Regions from separate parts of the Homo sapiens genome. Here region 1 is linked to region 2. Evidence: promoter capture Hi-C in 16 types of primary human blood cells and fetal thymus (Javierre and others, 2016). All regions are on one chromosome and are shown on one strand. The core of a region is centred on a gene start or on the middle of the fragment in contact, and the rest is flanking DNA. Distances in the headings are between cores, read along the strand shown.

The links. The method cuts DNA at HindIII sites, captures the fragments that hold promoters and counts their contacts. A CHiCAGO score of 5 or more calls a contact.
Region 1: a contact is called between a fragment that was not itself captured here and the fragment with the promoter of FZD5 in region 2, in 1 of 17 cell types (neutrophils). The highest score is 5.7, in neutrophils.

What each region holds. Positions count from the first base shown.
Region 1 is chr2:207,501,416-207,505,027 of GRCh38, reverse strand. No RefSeq gene overlaps it. Among named protein-coding and RNA genes, the nearest start is that of CREB1, 27 kb to the left of the region's middle. RefSeq lists an enhancer at 1,430-1,489. The HindIII fragment of the contact is 2,768 bases long and covers 137-2,904 here.
Region 2 is chr2:207,768,656-207,772,307 of GRCh38, reverse strand. It overlaps FZD5 (frizzled class receptor 5), which reads left to right and starts at 2,402. Exons shown (of 2, transcript NM_003468.4): 1 at 2,402-3,043; 2 at 3,314-3,652. The coding sequence starts at 3,569. RefSeq lists silencers at 1-45, 2,102-2,781, 3,122-3,181, 3,592-3,651 and enhancers at 517-1,337, 1,502-1,551. The HindIII fragment of the contact is 9,976 bases long and covers 1-3,652 here.

The DNA of each region.
Region 1 (3,612 bases), core at 271-2,770, 270 kb after region 2:
GTGATTTATCACGTAGAGTGAAGAAGTGGGAACTGTGTCGTTTCTTTTTACCCCCTGACAGTGGGGCTTCTCCTCCTGCTGTCAGGGCACGCCAACAGCCCATTGCTTTGGTGGTATGGGCTGAGGAAAGGAAGCTTGACTTGTAACTATTGCGGTTCTGCAGAAGGCCCTGGCATGTAGGGCAGTGAGCCAGTGGCTGCAGTCTGCCTCCTGGTGCTCCCTCCTAAAGCCAAAGGCTCTTGGAAGAAAAGACTTAGTTTTGCAGCCAAACTAGAGGTGGAGGTCTTTCTGCGGTAGTCATGGTAATCTACTCAGTATAGATTTTATAGTTAAGCAGAGGCTGCCGTAAGGAAAACTGGGGCCAGAGCTGGACGGGCATTTGCCTCTTGAAAGGCTCTGCCTGTGGCTCCTCCTCCACCCCCAGCTGGCTGATAGGATCCCCAGGAATATCCACAGGCTGTTGAAGGCTCCTCGGTGTTAGTGTCCCATCCTGTCTTCCTTAGTCCCTCTTTTCTCCCCAACCATTTCATATTAGCAAGCACATTTTTTTTTAAACTTTTAAGTTCAGGGGTAATAGGTTACGTAGGTAAGCTGCAGGTTTGTTACACAAGTAAACTTGTCTCATTTCATCACCCAGGTATTAATCCTATTAGGTATTTTTCCTGATCCTCTCCCTCCTCCCACCCTCCACCCTCCAATAGGCCCCAGTGTGTGTTATTCCCCTCTGTGTGTCCGTGTGTTCTCATCATTTAGCTTCCACTTATAAGTGAGAACATGAGGTATTTGCAGTGTGACGAATCCAATAGTAGCTTACAGTTATGACAACAGCTGAAGAAGCTGGTGATAAAGGCATGTTTTGTCTTGATGTCAGTTAGAGGTCTACCTGAAAAATAGGTGAGCCATAGACAGTGAATAAATCAAACAAGTGCAAATTTGATAACAAGATGGACCAATAAGTTGTCAATAAGTGGAGAACAAATGTAATACAATTCCTGGTATTCTCTTGGAGAAACCTCTGCTTATGAGTCCTCTAGCTTTCAGCCTCTGTGCCTGGGCTCCATCTATATATCTAGACTCATCCCAGTTACTGAGCCAGTTATGACAAATAGGGAATATGTCAGTATACCAGAAAAGTATAATCCAGAAAAGAGAAACCCTGCTGAGCATTTGAAACAGAGGGAATATGCAGGGAACTGGTTATACAGGAGACAAAAGAGCTGAGAAGCCAAACAATGGATGGTGAGATAATCCAAAGAATTGTGATAGCAGAAAACCAGTACCACTTCTAAACTGGAGGTCAACAGGGAGGAGGTCGTATTTTTTTTTTTTTAAACCGAAGAGGAGGCACTAGGGTCATCTGTTGGGAGCTGGAGCCAGAGAAGAGATGCTGAGATACTGCCCAAGGCAGAGAGGGAGGAGGAAAAATATCCTGGGAAATACAGCTTGCAGTGGTCAGTCTCCTGGGACCCAGAGAACAGCAGCAGAGCGTGAGGACTGGCCCAGGCAGGAAGCCCCATGCAGTGTGTGCATGGGAGGGAGGGAGCTCAGAATCGAGTCTTGGCTGGGGGTGGACCTTGTGTCCACAGTTCTAGGGATGACTACTGCCTGCTGTGAAATCTACCAGTGGCAGCACCTTCTGTCATCACGAGGTCTGGTAGGGTGTGGTGGCTGAGAGAACTGTATCGTTCTTGATAGACATGTGGGTCCCATGGACATAAGCATTTATTCAAAACTAAGTGAGCTATAATATTTAAATTATACCTTGATAAAATATGTATTAACACACACGAAAAGCATCAGGCTCTGGAGTCACACTGTCTATGTTTGCTCCTTATGAGCTATTATGAACTGGACTGTGTCTTCCTCAAATTCATGTGTTGTTGAAGCCTCAGCCCACAATATGACTATATTTAAAGATAGGGCCTTTAAGGAGGTAATTACAGTTAAATGGGGTTCCTAAGGGTGGGACCCTAATCTGACAGGGCTGGTGTTTTTGTAAGAAGAGGAAGAGAAACCAGTGATCTCTTTCCACGAGTGCACAGAGAAGAGGCCATGTGAGGACATAGAAGAAGGTGGCCATCTGCAAGCTGAGAATAGAGGCCTCGCCAGGAACTAACCCTGCCAGCACCTCGATCTTAGATTTTGAACCTCCAGAATGTCAAGAAAATCTATTTCTGTTGTTTAAGCCACCCGGTCTGTGTATTCTGTTATGGCATCTGGAGCTGACTGATATATGAGCTATGTGACTGTGAGCAAAACACATATATTCTGTCTGCCTTAGTTTCTTCATCTGAAAAATGGAGATGATAAAAGTTCCCTCCTCATGGGGTTTTTGGCAGAATTCAGTGAAATATAGTTTAAAGCACTTGGCATGTAGACATGTAGTAAGTATGCCATGTAGCTTTTACTATTCATAAGCCTGAATTTTTGCCTCAGTATCCCTGCCCAGAATCTGGGTCTTCCCTGTAAATGGATGCTGCCTCCCAATTCTCTAGCCCCACACAGGATTTTGCCAGTCCCCTCTCTTGCTGTTCCTGGCACACTCCACCTTTCATTTCGGGTTCTGCTAGCACCACTCAGAACTGTCACCTGCTTTCCTTTTAGCTGTTTGCACTCCACTTGCCAACGTCATCTCCACCCTGAGATTGTCATGTCCTTATGATTATGTGCTTTGACCTATCTACCAAGTGGCTCATGGCTGAGCCAGCCTCTGTATCCATTTCCCATAACCCCATTCTCTCTGGTCCTGGTTCCATCCCATCAGCTTGTGTGCGTAGAATGGTACCCCATATTTCCTGCTTCCTTTAGCATTTAGGCTTTTTATACAGACTCATTGACCTGTGGCAACTCTAGATTTTTCTCTCTAGAAATGTATTGGGTTGGAAAGGGGCAAGTGGATAAGCTTGTTTTGAAGCTGCAGTTGCAGAGCAAGATTGCTGGTTTAGGTTTTGTTTTTAAATTTACGTCATAGGCTTACTTGGGTTGGATTTTAGGGGAAATTATCTGTGCACGTGGGGCCGTGGTCACAGGCCAGTTGGATACAACTTCCCAGCATCAGTCCTTCACTCAGCAAATTGTTACTGGTTTTATGTGGGCATTGGGACCTGTGGTTGTCTATCTGAGGTTTGTTGGGTGGTTTGCAAGCAGTGGTTGTCAAGTTTTCAGTGATTCCCTATGTGTATTTTCCGTTGCTGTATACCTCAAACTTAACAGCATCAAATAACACACATTTATTATCTCAGAGTTTCTGTAGTTTTTAGACTTTTAAAATTGCAAAATGATACAAGCTCATTATAACAAGTTTAAACATTGAGAAGTTTACAAAGTACAAATGATACATATGTCCTCCTTACTCCCCTCTATTCTGACTCTCCCCAGAAATAACTACTGTCAACTGTTAAGTGTATCCATTCCGATTTTTTCTATGCTTAGATGAAGACACATTCACACTCATGCACCCACTTTTTTCCCCACTTTTTTTTTTAAAACAAAACAAAACAAAACAAGAATGGCTCTTACTTAAATTAGGCAGGACTCTTGTTTGCAAGTGATAGAAATGCTGTGTGAAATATCTTAGGCAAAAAGAGGAATTCACTGCCAGAAGAATTTAAA
Region 2 (3,652 bases), core at 1,153-3,652:
AGTCGCTCTGGTTCAAATGCCTCTGACAGAACCGTGTGAAATAACACAAATATTCTGGCTAAATTCCAGTGTGAGTGATTAACATTCTCCAACTTCAAATAATTTTTATTATTAGCCAACACTTGTCCATCCCCAGTAATACACACGTTGCATAAAGAGCACAGAATGAGATGGGCCTCCCTTGGCATGTTCATAGTCTGCACATACTTTCCACTGAGGGCTTCCCTTTCTTGCTCACTGCTATGCCCACAGCTTTTCAACTCCCACTATTTTCAACCCTGGGATGCTTCCTGACCCAGAGTGGCAAGTAATTCCAAAACACAAGAGATAAAATATGAACACCTGTAGAATTCCAGAGAAAGAAAGATGTAAGGTATATTTATTCATTTATTTAATTATGTATTTTAGAGTTGGGGGTCTTGCTATGTTGCTCAGGCTGGTCTGCAAACTCCTGGGTTCAAGCCATCCTCCCACCTCAGCCTCCCAAAGTGTTAGGATTACAGGCGTGAGCTATGGCGCCCGGCCTTTTAAACGTTTATTAATAGTTTTGATATCCGCGAAGTGATTGATATTTGTTCCTTTTTAACTTGGAGGCTGGGATTAACACACGTGTTCTTCATTATTGCCCACAAAGCGTTGTTGATACGCAGGAGGGGAGTGGCACTTCCGCAATTTATTCTTCCAACCTGTGCCAATGGGATCCAGCACAGGAGATGGACAGTAACCCGCGGTTGATCTGGATCTAGTCCAGTTAGTCCAGTCCCTATCCCTTCAAGTGTCCCCAGGCCCTCTTGCCTATTTTCGCCCTTTGCCCAGTGGAAGGAAAAGTTTGGGGAGAAGGAAAAAATTTAAACCCTCTTCCTAGGCGTGTGAATGTATTTCAAGTATGCTAAATACCTCAGTCTTCCAATCTAATTACAACACATAGAAAAGAGGCATTTTTAGGACATTTAAAACTTGTAGCATAATTGCGCAACTGAAGAGCGCCGCCGTGTCCCCGCCATCGGTGCGCCCTCCGACCCCCCGCGGCGCGCAAGTGCGCGGCTTAGCAGCAGGCAGCCGGGGACGGAAGGGCACGGGGAGGCCGGCGCCCTGCCCAGCACAGAACCCTGGGTCGGTATCGCTTCTCTCTGCGGGCGACTTCGGAACTGCCTGGGATTATAAACCTCGACCAATAAAGGACTCACATCTTTCTGGGTCTTCTAAAGGCAGAAAGAAATCCATTTTCTTGTCACAACAAGATTTTGTTAAGAGATGCAAAAGTAAAGGTCGAAGCCAGGGAGGCTGCGATAGTATGGGGGGAGGGGCGGCTACGATGGTGAGTGCCGCTGACCAACTACCTGGGTTCGAATCCCAGGGTTGCCATTTGGGCGGCTACTATGTGCCAGGTGATCGGAATACGGAGGTGAACTTGCTTGCCGAGGTCGCCCTTTCTTGGGGGAACTATGATTAGCTCGGTTGCCTTGGCCAAGTCTCAGTCTCGGTTTCTTCACCTGTAGGAAGTACCTGCCTCAGAATTGTTGTAAGGAGTGAGATCTTGTCTTAAGATGTAAACGGGCCGGGCGCGGTGGCTCACACCTGTAATCCCAGCATTTTGGGAGGCCGAGGCGGGCAGATCACGGTGTCAGGAGTTCGAGAACAGCCTTACATGGTGAAAGCCCGTCTCTACCAAAAATACAAAAATTAGCTGGGCGTGGTGGCGGGCGCCAGTAATCCCAGCTACGCAGGAGGCTGAGGCAGGATAATCGCTTGAACCCGGGAGACAGAGGTTGCAGTGAGCCGAGATCGCGCCACTGCACTCCAGCCTGGGAGACAGAACAACTCGTCTCAAAAAAAAAAAAAAAAAAAAAGGATGTAACCGATTAACACTTTGTTGGGCACACAGTAAAGGGCTCAGTAAGTATCCTCTCTTCTTTCACACAGTTCCAAGACAGCTCGGAAGGGAGACAGCCACGCCTAAGAGTGATTCCTTGAGCAGTTCTTTCAAAGAAGCACTGAACTCTGTAAGGACGCTTAGCTGCAGGCAGAAAGGGCAGGGGCCCTGGGAGCAAAGGTGCATAAGCCAGGAAGTTACAGGAGCGAGTCCTGCACCCAGGGCGCGGGCAGAGAACTCCGGAGGGACTTCTGGCAAGGGCTTCCCGCCCGGGTGCCCAGAGCGGCATGATTAGCATTCGCCCCGCCCCCATCTCCTCCAGGCCCGCGATTGGTCAGCGCTCCTTGGCTGCCCGCTCCTGGCGGGGCCAGAGGGCGCCGGGGGAAAGGCCGAGCCCGCGGGGCAGTGGGCGGGGACGCGCGGAGAGCTTGGCGAGGCGGCCCACCAACCGCGCCCGGGCCTGAGGGGGCGGAGCCGGGGCGGGGCTTCCCGGCGGGCATTAGAAGCAGGTGACCCGGGCGGGGCGGGAGAGGGCAGCCAGCCTGCGGCCGTGAGTCCGCTGTGGTCGCCGCCGCGCGCGGTTCCGTGCTCGCCAGAGGTGGGCGAAAGGGTGCGAGAGCGCGGGGGAGGAGCCGAGCAGGGCACGTCCCGAGAGCGTCGCCACCGCCCCCAGGAGTCCACTGGAGCGCGGAGCCCCCTGCAGGGGAGGAGGCGAGCGGCGGGCGGGACGCGGCGGCCGGCGCTCACCATGCAGTCCCGGCCTGGCCAGCGCCGGCTGCTCGCGGTGCTGTGAGGCGGCGGGGTCCCACGGCCCCCGCCTCCCGCCTTCCTCCCGCCCAGGTGCTGCCAGGCGCGCTCGCCCTCCGTCCGGCTCCCGGCCCCGGGGAGAACGCACGGCCTGCCCCTGCCCGGCTCCGTCTGGATCATGCGGGGGGCTCCCGAGGAGGAGAGGGCGAGTGACCGGCCTGCGCCGCCCCTGTTCTGGGGGCGCCCCCCACTCTGAGTCGCCCCCACCTGCTGCCATGTGCCGCTGCCACGGGTACCCAGCCTGTCGCTAAACTTTCCGGGCGCCAGCCCGGCTCTGAGTCGCGCTTCTCAGCGGAGTGACCCAGGGACGGAGGACCCAGGCTGGCTGGGGACTGTCTGCTCTTCTCGGCGGGATCCGTGGAGGTGAGAACCTTCCCTTTCTCCCTGTTCTTCTCCCGTTTCCTGTGCCCTTTTCCGGGAAGCTGAGGGTTCTGGTCTCCGGGCACTGCCTGAAGGGCCCAGCTTGGAAAGAGAGGGTGGGGGAGTCGGTAGTTTGGTTACAGGAGGCGGAGCGGGGAGGAAAGGAAAGGGGTTAACTTAAGAGATTTGGAGACAGCTCGCGGGGACCGAACTGTTGACGCCTCTCCAACAGGGAGTGGTTGCAATCTTTCTTCTCCCCCTTCTTTTTTAAAGAGTCCTTTCCCTGGAATCCGAGCCCTAACCGTCTCTCCCCAGCCCTATCCGGCGAGGAGCGGAGCGCTGCCAGCGGAGGCAGCGCCTTCCCGAAGCAGTTTATCTTTGGACGGTTTTCTTTAAAGGAAAAAGCAACCAACAGGTTGCCAGCCCCGGCGCCACACACGAGACGCCGGAGGGAGAAGCCCCGGCCCGGATTCCTCTGCCTGTGTGCGTCCCTCGCGGGCTGCTGGAGGCGAGGGGAGGGAGGGGGCGATGGCTCGGCCTGACCCATCCGCGCCGCCCTCGCTGTTGCTGCTGCTCCTAGCGCAGCTGGTGGGCCGGGCGGCCGCCGCGTCC